2 separate regions of the Homo sapiens genome follow, and region 2 is linked to region 1. The links are contacts of gene promoters, found by promoter capture Hi-C in human tissues and cell types (Jung and others, 2019). All regions are on one chromosome and are shown on one strand. The core of a region is centred on a gene start or on the middle of the fragment in contact, and the rest is flanking DNA. Distances in the headings are between cores, read along the strand shown. Region 1 holds the start of ZIC5 (Zic family zinc finger 5). Region 2 overlaps CLYBL (citramalyl-CoA lyase).

What was found. Contacts are between HindIII fragments. The study calls those that stand out against the background at their distance.
Region 2: a contact is called between a fragment that was not itself captured here and the fragment with the promoter of ZIC5 in region 1, in 1 of the 25 tissues and cell types used here (dorsolateral prefrontal cortex).

Annotation. Positions count from the first base shown.
Region 1 is chr13:99,967,765-99,974,079 of GRCh38, reverse strand. It overlaps ZIC5 (Zic family zinc finger 5), which reads left to right and starts at 2,313. Exons shown (of 2, transcript NM_033132.5): 1 at 2,313-3,953. The coding sequence starts at 2,477. The HindIII fragment of the contact is 23,774 bases long and covers 1-6,315 here.
Region 2 is chr13:99,675,527-99,681,353 of GRCh38, reverse strand. The region is part of intron 1 of CLYBL (citramalyl-CoA lyase); the gene reads right to left. It overlaps LOC124903199 (a long non-coding RNA gene), which reads right to left. Exons shown (of 2, transcript XR_007063848.1): 1 at 167-5,827. Among named protein-coding and RNA genes, the nearest start is that of CLYBL-AS2, 13 kb to the left of the region's middle. The HindIII fragment of the contact is 6,398 bases long and covers 1-4,843 here.

The DNA.
Region 1 (6,315 bases), core at 1,064-3,563:
GGCTCTGCTACACCATTATTCACATTTTTACAGCCTTTCCTTCATGCCTTCACCCATTAAACCATTAAATTTCAGCAATTCAATAAAACAAAGCAGTTATAATTTTGACGAAAAGCTATTTTGAAGGGGGTGGAGGTACCCATTTTATTGCACAATAAAAATGCTCAACAGTCCATATTAAAGGCTAGCTTGTGTTTATTTTCTTCTTTCTTTATTCATTTTGTTTTGTTTTGTTTTTACTTATAACCTGCAGGATTGAACCCAAAGCTGCCATTACTGCAAGAATTAATGCTTATTGCCAAGAAATTCAAATAAAGGAAACTCATTGGAAATGTTCAGAGAGGAAACGATGACAGTGATAATTCCAAATATGATGCTTTCTCCATAAACTATCCATAGAGATGGCACAGCTCTCGATCAACCTTTGCCTGGTTGGCTTGAAATGTTTTAAGTCTTTGACATAAAAATTGTGAAAGGACTCGTCGTTTCCAAAGTGAGATGAAGATTTTGTTACTGCTGTTTATTAAAATTTTTTCGTTGTGTTTCCACACATGCCTTTAATTCCCCATATTTGAACTTCATTGCAACTTAAAGAAAAAGTCCATTTGAAATTTGATGGTAGCATTGTCTTTGTTTGCTTGTCAGTTTTATAAAAGAAATGACATTCCTAAGTCTCATACCGAAGCCCCCTGTTAAACATCGTTCACACCAATGTGAATGGCACTATCGAATCAACTCTTTTCAGAATATTTCTGATTACTTCCCACGGCCATCTCCCCAATAACGGCTTTGTGCAGTCTACTTTTACTTGGACTGCAAATGAATTAAGTTGGAAACATATTTTATTGTATCCCCAAAGAAAAAGATCACATTCTAATCATTATCACTTTTTTTTTTTTTACAAGTAATGTTACGGATGACAGCAAAATACAAATTTTAAAATCCTGGCTTTAATATTTGAGCATTTTGTAACATCACAAATTTCAAAAATGCTTTCTTTTAAAATCTGAAAAGGACACTTTTGGGGCAGTAAAATCCTTAATTTGGGGGGAGGGTCCCACATTTCTCCGCCCACCAAAAAGTGATGCAGGGAATTTCTATTTTTAAAAAATCGATTTGATACCAAACCTCTGGAAAGGGATGGGATTCGCTTTTTTAAAAGCCAGTTTTTATGGTTTTCAAATAAGACATCTTAGAGGTAGACTGGTTTATGAGAAAACGATAAAAAGGTGAAAGATTATTCTATCAGTAAATAAAAAGCAAAGATATTTCTTGATTTCAAAATAATATTTTATTGGATCAGTTCTAATTGTGGATCAGTCAAAGAAACTGAGGCATACATGTGGACTGTGGACTGGGATCTGGACCGGAAGGAGAAATTCTACTTAAAGGACGGTGCTTATTTAGCGGCTTCTCTCTGCAGAGATGCCGTTTGGCCTGCCCCGCCACTGTATCTCCGAAAGGCAAAAGTTAGAATCGCTGCCCGATCTCCTCTCCCCCGCCCCTACTGTAGATCTAATTGGAAGTGGCAGATCTAGAACCGATGAGTAGTGAGATTACACTTCCATCCAACTCCTTTGAACCATGTTGAAAAGGACTCTCCATGAGATAAAAAGTCGAGGTAAAACGGTTCCTTTGGGGGAAAGACTTATTTTGACTTCACCTGGTGTTTCGCGGAGCCAAATCACTCAAGTTGTCTTGCAACCAATAGACTTTATCTTCTTCACTCCGTCTACTGTCTATGCGCCCTAGGTGAGCGCTAGGCAGGTTGGGTGTCCAAACAAGAAGTTTCTAGCATCACCACTACAGGTAGGACGGGCTATTCACCCTTCTCTCCCAAACAGCAGCCCAGGGCTCTTCCACCCCACAAGAGAGGTGGAGGTAGAGGCAGAAAGTACTTGGGTGCCAGAAGGCACACAGAGAAGTGAGGCCAAGGTTTTTGAAACTGGGACTGCCCCTCGGGGGTCCTCAGCCCCTCACCACCCCGCGCCCTCTGCCCGCGTGCCGGCGCGCGCTCCGCGAGGTGCGTCAAGGAAGAGCGGGGCGCTGCGCGCGCAGGCCAGGCTCAAACTTTCTGCAAGTGCAACTTGGGCATCCCCGGGGAGGCGGGGACGTGTGGCTCCAGCGGAGGAGGGGGCGCGAAGCGAAAGCGCAGGCGGCCGCAAGCACGGGGGCGAATCCCCGCTGGGTCGAGGGCCTGAACGGGAGCCAATCGAGCAGCCGAGGCTACTGCCAATCACGCGGCTCCCTCCAATCCCACCCGTGCCATTTCCAAAATCTCGGTCCCACTGTGCAGCTCAAATGTGGTGTTCACTCTGCCAATCGCTGGAGGATAGAGTGGGAACAGGAATAAGCAGAGTTAAGAGGCCAGGACAAAAGAAGTTAAAGAGCGCCCAATACATACATGTTTTTGAAGGCGGGCAGAGGGAATAAAGTCCCCCCAGTGAGGGTCTATGGGCCTGATTGTGTAGTTCTGATGGAGCCCCCTTTGAGCAAGAGGAACCCGCCAGCGCTGAGATTAGCGGATTTGGCAACGGCTCAGGTCCAGCCGCTTCAGAATATGACAGGCTTCCCGGCGCTGGCCGGCCCGCCCGCCCACTCCCAACTCCGGGCCGCCGTCGCGCACCTCCGCCTGCGGGACCTGGGCGCTGACCCCGGCGTGGCCACCACTCCGCTCGGACCCGAGCACATGGCCCAGGCGAGCACGCTGGGCCTCAGCCCTCCCTCCCAGGCGTTCCCGGCACACCCGGAGGCTCCGGCAGCCGCCGCCCGTGCTGCAGCCTTGGTCGCGCACCCCGGCGCGGGCAGCTACCCCTGCGGCGGGGGCAGCAGTGGCGCGCAGCCCTCCGCGCCCCCGCCCCCAGCCCCTCCTCTTCCTCCCACCCCTTCACCCCCTCCCCCTCCCCCGCCTCCTCCTCCTCCTGCCCTCTCGGGCTACACCACCACCAACAGTGGCGGCGGCGGCAGCAGCGGCAAAGGCCACAGCAGGGACTTCGTCCTCCGGAGGGACCTTTCCGCCACGGCCCCCGCGGCGGCCATGCACGGGGCCCCGCTCGGAGGGGAGCAGCGGTCCGGCACCGGCTCCCCCCAGCACCCGGCCCCGCCTCCCCACTCGGCCGGCATGTTCATCTCCGCCAGCGGCACCTACGCGGGCCCGGACGGCAGCGGCGGCCCGGCGCTCTTCCCCGCGCTGCACGACACGCCGGGGGCCCCAGGCGGCCACCCGCACCCGCTCAACGGCCAGATGCGCCTGGGGCTGGCGGCGGCAGCGGCAGCCGCGGCGGCTGAGCTGTACGGCCGCGCCGAACCGCCCTTCGCGCCGCGCTCTGGGGACGCGCACTACGGGGCGGTTGCGGCCGCAGCGGCGGCCGCCCTGCACGGCTACGGAGCCGTGAACTTAAACCTGAACCTGGCGGCTGCGGCGGCCGCAGCAGCGGCCGGGCCCGGGCCCCACCTGCAGCACCACGCGCCGCCCCCGGCGCCGCCGCCGCCGCCGGCGCCCGCGCAGCACCCGCACCAGCACCACCCCCACCTCCCAGGGGCGGCTGGGGCCTTCCTGCGCTACATGCGGCAGCCAATCAAGCAGGAGCTCATCTGCAAGTGGATCGACCCCGACGAGCTGGCCGGGCTGCCGCCGCCGCCGCCGCCGCCGCCGCCGCCGCCGCCACCGCCCCCGGCCGGCGGCGCCAAGCCCTGCTCCAAAACTTTCGGCACCATGCACGAGCTGGTGAATCACGTCACGGTGGAGCACGTGGGAGGCCCCGAGCAGAGCAGCCACGTCTGCTTCTGGGAGGACTGTCCGCGCGAGGGCAAGCCCTTCAAGGCCAAATACAAGCTCATCAACCACATCCGCGTGCACACCGGCGAGAAGCCCTTTCCCTGCCCTTTCCCCGGCTGCGGCAAGGTCTTCGCGCGCTCCGAGAACCTCAAGATCCACAAGCGTACTCATACAGGTGGGTGTCTGTCCCCGGCCGCGCCGCCGCCGCCGCCACCAGCTCCTGCGCCGCCGCCGCTTCCGCCGCTGCTTCTCCTCCTCCTCCTGCTCGCCTTAATTTTTTTCTCCTTCTGCTGCTTCTCTTCGCATACGTATAACCCGGACATGTGACTTCTTTTTTTTTCTCTCCCCCCCTTTTTTTTTTCTATGAATAAGTAATTCGATAGCACACACAGGCCCCGCGTTGGGTTCCCACACGGCGGAGTCTCCAGCGCGCCCGCAGCCCCTCGGCCGGGACCCGCAACGCGCGCCAGCCGCCGCCGCCGCCACCTCGGAGCAGACGCAGCAGCAGCTGGAGCAGGAAGGCGCCCAGGACGGTCGGCAGTCCCCACCCGCCCGGCCCTGGGAAGTCTGGGAGGGCGATGGAAAGAGAGGCCGGGCCGCCCCGGCAAGCGCCTCTCTTCCCACCGGGTCGTAGGCCCCGCGCAGTCTCCGCGCTCCGAGGACCGGGCGTGGGATTTGCTGCCGGATTTGGGCCGCCCGAGGCAGGCCTTCCGGGAGGGGAAGGGACCCCTCCGGGAAGACAGGAATGCGCTTTCGGAACCCCGGAGACCACTCGCACTCGCCCACCGTGACACACTCTTCACGCACACCTTCTTCTGCGTGCGTCTCCCACAACTTTACACACTCATATCCTCCTGCGCGTGCACCCCATTCCCGCGACACCTGTGTGTCCTCACACTCACATCATTTACACGCCCCACGCGCCCTCTCACACGCAGTATCACACTCGCCCTGGAGGGTGCTGGAGTTGACATCTGCCTTTCTAGAGAAGGTTCTAGTTGTAGGAGGACCCGAGCCTCCCACCATCGGTGAGGCCTACCCTGTCGTGGAATTGGTGGGGAGCCACCGGCGTCGTGGGGACCCTCCCACCCCACCTCAAGCCCTGCCTCTGGGGATCCCACAGCGCTGAGGAGGGCGGCTGCGGCGCGAGGCGGTGGATGGCTCCTGTGGGTCGTGTGCCCCCTTTGAGCGGACCAGCGCGTCGGGCGGAAGCGCTGATGAGCGCGAACGCAGTCGGGATTTATAGGGACAGATACGATTACCCCTCGGAGGACACTTAAGTAACTGGAGTTTACGTTCAGTAATCACTTGGCAGATTTATCGGCGCTGCTGCGGCCAGGAGGTAGCCGCCGGGTCCCACGCTCGGGCCGGGGGCGCTCGGGGCTCTGCGGGGGCAGCAGCGTCGGGGTGGCCCGAGGCGGGAGCCTTGGCTTGGCTCCTGCGGGCCGCCTGATGGCCGGTGGGGAGCACGTTTTCCCAGGAGCCCCTTTTCTCTCTAATCGGGATCAGTCCGCCTTAATGATTTTTCCAGGAAGAAACTTCCCAGGAGGCTCTCGTAAAAACGCCCTGGCCCGCTAAGCCGGCTGCTCGCTCCTGTGCCCAGCACTTCTCGGCAGGGCAGGATCCAGGGACCGTGAAGCCGCTCCCCAGCCCGGCCCCGAAAGGGAACTCCCAAGCGCGGGGCCGCGCGCGGCCTAGGGCCCTTCCCGCCTGCCCAGGCCTCGCGAGGGGAGCGGCCTTCCCTAGGCGGCTGCCGGGAGCTGCGGGCGCAGAAGCCGATCCGGGCCCCCGGCGGGACAGGCCACGCCCTGCGCACTGTCCCCGGTGGCTTCCCGGGGCACGCGCGCGTGCGTGGGGTCGGGGGGGGCGCGGGGGACCCCAGGCGGCGAGGGGACCCGCGGTCATTTGGGTTTTTGGCTCTGCGTCTCGCGGACGGTTGCATTTCCTGCCCCCTCCCGGCGGCCGCGTGGGCCCCACCCGGTGGAGCGTGGGGGTCCCTGCGGGAGGGACGCAGGCGCCTCGGGTTCAGACTCCAACCCGCGCTTGGTGTTTCTGGCGGTCCCTGGGCCGCTCAGCTATTGGACATTGTGTTCTGAGAGGGCCCATCCGGACTTCTTTCCCTCCCTGCCACGCCGCTCTCCCTTTTGGGGGTTATCCGGGATCCCGGAACGGATTGATCAAAGGGACTAATCCCCGGGCCACTTCCGAAGGCCCCTTTCCTGACCCACGTGCCCCCAGTCCCGTTTATAACCGTCCCGCGGGCCCGACTCGCGCTCTCTCGGGAGAGGGAGCTGCTAGGAGCTGGCGGGGTCCGCAAGTAGTTCCTTACTTTCCCACAGGCTCCAGGCTCTCAAACTCTGTAAATAGTTAAATTCTGACGTGACTCGTCTATCAGAATCTTAAATGTAAACACTGAGGTCTCTCAGCCTTTCTAGTTAGGTAGAATTTGCTTATTCCCCTTAGGCCCCCTGAACAACACAGGCCTTTCCATCGCCCTTGCCTTGTTTTCTTCTGTTTTCTCCGTGCACCTCTTCCTT
Region 2 (5,827 bases), core at 395-2,894, 290 kb after region 1:
TTATATTCATTGTGCCCCTATACTCTTAAATGGTTCCCCAAACCAAGGACACTCTCCTACACAACTTTATTGCAATTATCCAAATCAGAAAATGTAACATGGGTACGATACTAGTATCTATTCTACAGGCCTTATTTAAATATCACAAATTATCCCAATAACGTACTTTATCTCCATTTATTTTTCCGGCTTAAGATCCAATCCAGAATCACTCTTTACATTCAGCGATGATGCTTCTTTAGATGAAGTAAGTTACAGCACTACTTCCTTCTTAGGACTTTGTTCACAGACTAAAGACTCCACTCATAATCTTCTGAATGTTATGGCGCTGGTCCAAAATAATCACAAAGGAAAAATTTTAATTTATAGGACAACTCAAATTATCTTTTTCTTCCTTTCATGGAATAGGAAAGAGTGTGTGGATAGGCCACAGTAAAACATCATGAAAAATGCGGCGCTTATCAACTAGGTAGTTTGTTTATTGGGTCCATGTCTGATGCTAATGCTACTAAGGTTTTAGGCAGTGGGAGAAACCCAGTGGTCTGTCCTAAGGCCAAAGACTGGGCCCTTAGTTTCAGCAGCCATCCACGTCTCTGCTACTACACAGAAAGAGGGCTAAATATGGAGCATAGGTATTCCATAGGCACATGGCAACAGCATCAGGGAATACACTCAGAATCCTTCTACCCTGGTGGGCCATTCTGTGATGGAAGCACATTGGATAACTCAAGGTCTCACTTAGGTATAAAACAAACAAGCTTTTCGACTAGTGATGACAAACTCTGGGTTCTGGATTGAGGATGAGGGGTTTATTTTCTTCTCTGGCCAGTCCTAGTCCGTTATTTTTGGAGGCCTCTTGTAAAATTACCTTTTACAAGGTTGGTCAACTTAGATATCATTCTTTTATTTCATTGCAACAGGAAGATTAGTTAGGCAACTCTGCTATCCTAACCTTATGAATGCCATCTCATCAGGCTAAGTTATGTACCTTCTAACTTGATTCACAAAACAATGAAAGTAGAATCTAGGAAAATTGGAGTACGTTTTTATGGAAGGGTGGACTGCATCATCGAAGACTTGCAGGCAAAACCACAGAGAAGTACAAATGGTGCTCTAGAAATTAAAAATGGGTGTCAGATACTAACCTGTGAATGTGTGGAGGAAGACGATGTTTATAAAGAATGCTTTTCATTTGCTGTCATAGGCACTGCCATATTGAAATTCCCCCATTAATTAGTAGGCCAACTTTAAACTGACACTTCCCATGAAAACACGAGCCAGTTTTCAAAGTTGTGAATGCAAAAGTTTCCAGCACAAATACTGAAAAGTACAAACTGAGCATCCTAAATGTTTATATTAACTATTGCCCCAAGAAGGTAATATGGTCATTTAATATTATTTAATGCCTAAGTACATGCATTAGACAGTAACATACATAGCTCTTTAGGATGCTGTTTCTCACATCAGGATCTAGTTGGCCAAACATTTCCTTTGAATGACGTTTAATAACGTGCACCTGGAAATCTGAGGGCAGCTGTGGCATTTTCTATGTAATTAATGGCTAGAGGAATCCATAGAAATGCTTTTCTTCCCATTTCTACCAGACATTTCCCCCCCCACCCTCTCCTTCCCATTTTGGAAAGAGAAGAAATATGGCTTATATAAAGTGGATTGTGGTTACTCATTACATGACATTTGGACAGATGTGTCATTTGCAGATCTAAAAGGTCTGTGCTTCACCACCCTCTACATAATTACTCAGATCACCATCTGAGGAGCTGTAAGAGTGATTCACAAGGAAAAAGAAAGTCCCAGCACAGTGGAGATCTGAGTAACACTGGGAAACAAACACAGATTCCCCGGGTGAGGAAGATGGACGCTGAATACCCTAAAAGGTCACATTAAAGAGGAGTTCTGGGACATTAAGAGCATTTCTTGAGGCCCAAAATTTCGATTCTCCTTTTCTGACATGTATCCAGGGCAGAATTTAATTAGCTTATACAATTTTGGTACAATTAGCTTATACTATTTTTCTTTTTCTTTTCTTTTTTTTTTTTTTTGAGTCGGAGTCTCGCTCTGTCGCCCAGGCTGGAGTGCTGTGGCGCAATCTTGGCTTACTGCAACCTCCACCTCCCGGGTTCACGCCATTCTCCTGCCTCAGCCTCCCAAGTAGCTGGGACCACAGGCGCCCGCCACCACACCCGGCTAATTTTTTGTATTTTTAGTAGAGACAGGGTTTCACCGTGTTAGCCAGGATGATCTCAATCTCCTGACCTCGTGATCTGCCCGCCTCGGCCTCCCAAAATGCTGGGATTACAGACATGAGCCTCCACGCCTGGCGTATACAATTTTTCTAATGAGCAATATATTAGAAATACAAACAAGTTAAAATATTTTGAGTGAGAGAAACAATGGTTACCTAAGTGTCCAGCACATACTAGGTCCTCAATAAATATCTAGTCAGTGAATAAATGCTAATAGAATTATCCTGTACTTTCTGGAATTTTTTTTTTCTGTACTTTGTATTTTTAAAGAGTTAACCTAAATTAAAATGTCAGGAGACTGAAATATTTCACGCTCTTTCTGCCTACCTTTTAATTATATAAAAGATGATTGTAACAAACCCACAATGTAAGTCTCCTCAAACAAAAAAGATAATAATACTTTCCTGATTTCAGTTTGGTTGCAGAAAAAAGGCAAATTGGTGCATAATTAACAATTTGTTGGTGTAAATTCATCTGCATCTTTTAATTGGTGTTAATTAGATTAGGACTAAAATTTCTTTAATCCTCTATCTTGCCTTTTTTGATGCAAACTAATTTTCTCAGCTGGATGTCAAAGTTTCCCATTAATTACACTTTTCTAAAGGGAGCTTCTTCAACAATGTAGACTCAAACATATAGACCAAGAGCAGATTTCAGCAGAGCTTGGAATCAACCTTTTGGGAAAAATAAGGCATGGTGAGAAGTGACACTTAGGAGATAACTAGTGAATTTACCCAAATTCACTGGTGAATCAAGGCTTCCACAATTAGCAAATCAGAGACTGTCTGATACATGAGAGCCTCCAGCATTTGGCAGCTGTAAATAACACCCTGTAACACAACTCTGCCGCAGTGCAGATGTTAGAGCAGACCTTCTGAAACAACAATGACAAAATGTTCAGCCGTATGGTTAAGAAGACAACTTCCTTTTAAAACTCAACAATATCGGTAATGCCATTGCCTTTTACTCTGCATTACCCAGGGGCCATTCATAAGGCTGGCATGGCTATTTCCAGTGGAAAACACGCGCAAATGTAAACCATCTTAAGTGAATTAAGTTCCACATTTCATACGGTTTCCTCCAAATATTGCAACTCTTCTACAACGGTTAGCATGTCAGGAGGAAAAGCCACAAAATACATTCAATATCTTTTATGGCAAGGTGACCTGAAATAAAATTTTATGTAGTCAAGGATTTCTGATAGTTCTTTATCCATAGCTTTCCTCTCACTCTGTAGCAGTGATGATTGAAACCCGATGTGTACTGCAAAAAAGGGCTATAAATCTTTTTATGTACAAATAAAACAGTAGCCATTAAATTTTGCTATGATGTCTGAGTAGATATTCAGCATGAAAACATGATAAAACAACTGTAAACTGATTGTGATCAAATGTAATTACAATGACTTGTCTCCAATGAATGACATGAACTAAATACAGTCACAGATTTCTCCAAAATTACTTTGGGCAAAGAACCAAGAGAACACTATATCCTTTCTTCACTAAAGGCATTTTGCCAGATAAATCGCAAACACACAAGCTTTAATAACTACTGCCAAAAAAGCACTTGGGAACTCATTATGGAAACGTTTAAAACACACACAGACACAGACACACGTGCACTCATATTTAATAAAAACTCTTCCTCCATATTAATATAATTTTACTGAAAAAGCCACGTGTTTTGAGATTTTTAATTGATGCTCCCCAGAAGTAAATCTAAGGAGTGATCGGCAATTACAAGCTTTTTTTTTTTCCTCTCTCAAAGTCAATGTATTTGGCTGCCGTTTCTGGCATCTTTATCTTGGAGAGGTTATAAGAAAATCTACTTGGATATTTTTATGCAGCTAAAAGTAAACAATGATCTGGATTCTGAAATAATCTGATCTTTTCAATACGCCAATGCAGGTAGATTCTCTCCCTCATTCTCTGCCCTTTTTGAGGTGACTTATTGCATTACCTCCAGGAACAGAAAAAATAAAAATGACCGTATACACAGGAGTCACATTCAGCAGTAATTATGGCTGACACAGGTCTACGAACCTAAGGACCTGGGAAAAAAAGGGGACAATTTGTGCTCTCAGCTCTACTGTCCAACTTTGTCCTTTTTTTTTTTTTAACCTCTAGTCCTGAAATTGTGGCAGTATTTATCTATACACCATTTGGGAATATTATTAAGAATGATGGGCCGAGCGCAGTGGCTCATGCCTGTAATCCCAGCACTCTGGGAGGCTGAGGTGGGCAGATCACCTGAGGTCGAGAGTTCGAGACCAGCCTGACCAACATGGAGAAACCCCATCTCTACTAAAAATACAAAATTAGCTGGGCATTTTTCACCCAGTGGTGGGGCATGCCTGTAATGCCAGCTACTCGGGAGGCTGAGGCAGGAGAATCGCTTGAACCTGGGAGGTGCAGGTTGCAGTAAGTCGAGATTGTGCCATTGCACTCCAGCCTGGGCAACAAGAGCAAAACTCCACCTCAAAAAAAAAAAGAATGAAGAAGGCTGGGTGTGGTGGCTCATGCCTGTAATCCCAGCACTTTGGGAGGCTGAGGTGACTTGAGGTCAGGAGTTTGAGACCAGCCTGGCCAACATGGCGAAATCCTGTCTCTACTAAAAAAACAATTAGCCAGGCCTGGTGGCAGGTGCCTGTAATCCCAGCTACTCGAGTGGCTAAGACATGAGAACAAATGAGGTGGAGGCTGCAGTGAGCCGAGATTGCGCCATTGCACTCCAGCCTGGGTGACAAGAGTGAAACTCTGTCAGAAAGAGAGAAGAGGACAGGAGGGGAGGGGAGAGGAGGGAAGAAAGAGAGAGAGAAAGAGAAATAGAAAAAGAAAAAGAAAGGGAGGAAAGGAAGGAAGGAAGGAAGGAAGGAAGGAAGGAAGGAAGGAAGGAAGGAAGGACGGACGGAGGGAAGGAAGGAAGCCAGTCTGTGGCCAGGGGTGGTGGCTCACGCCTGTAATCCCAGCACCATGGGAGGCCGAGGCGGGCAGATCACCTGAGGGTAGGAGTTCGAGACCAGCATGGCCAACATAATGAAACTCTATCTCTACTAAAAATACAAAAAATTAGCCAGGCGTGGAGGCACAGTGCCTGTGATCCCAGCTACTTGGGGGGCTGAGGCACAAGAACAACTTGAACCCGGGAGGTGGAGGTTGCAGTGAGCTGAGATCATGCTACTGCATTCTAATTCCATTCCTAAGTATAACCCCAGAAGAAATATACCCATACAACAATGTGTACAGAAATGTTCATAGCAGCATTATTCATAATAGCTAAAAAGTAGAAACAACCTAAATTTCCAACAACTAATCAATGAATAAATAAAATGTGGTATATATTAGTACATACAGTGGAATATTATTTGGCCCTAAAAAGGAATGAAGTACTGCCACATGCTACAGCTTGGATGAAGCTTGAAAACATTATACTAAGTGAAAGAAGCCAGTCACAAAAGACCACGTATCGTATGATTCCATGTATATGAAGAGTCCAGAATCGGCAAATATAGAAAGACAGAAAGTAGACTAGTGGTTGCCTAGGACTGAGGGTTTTGGGGGAAA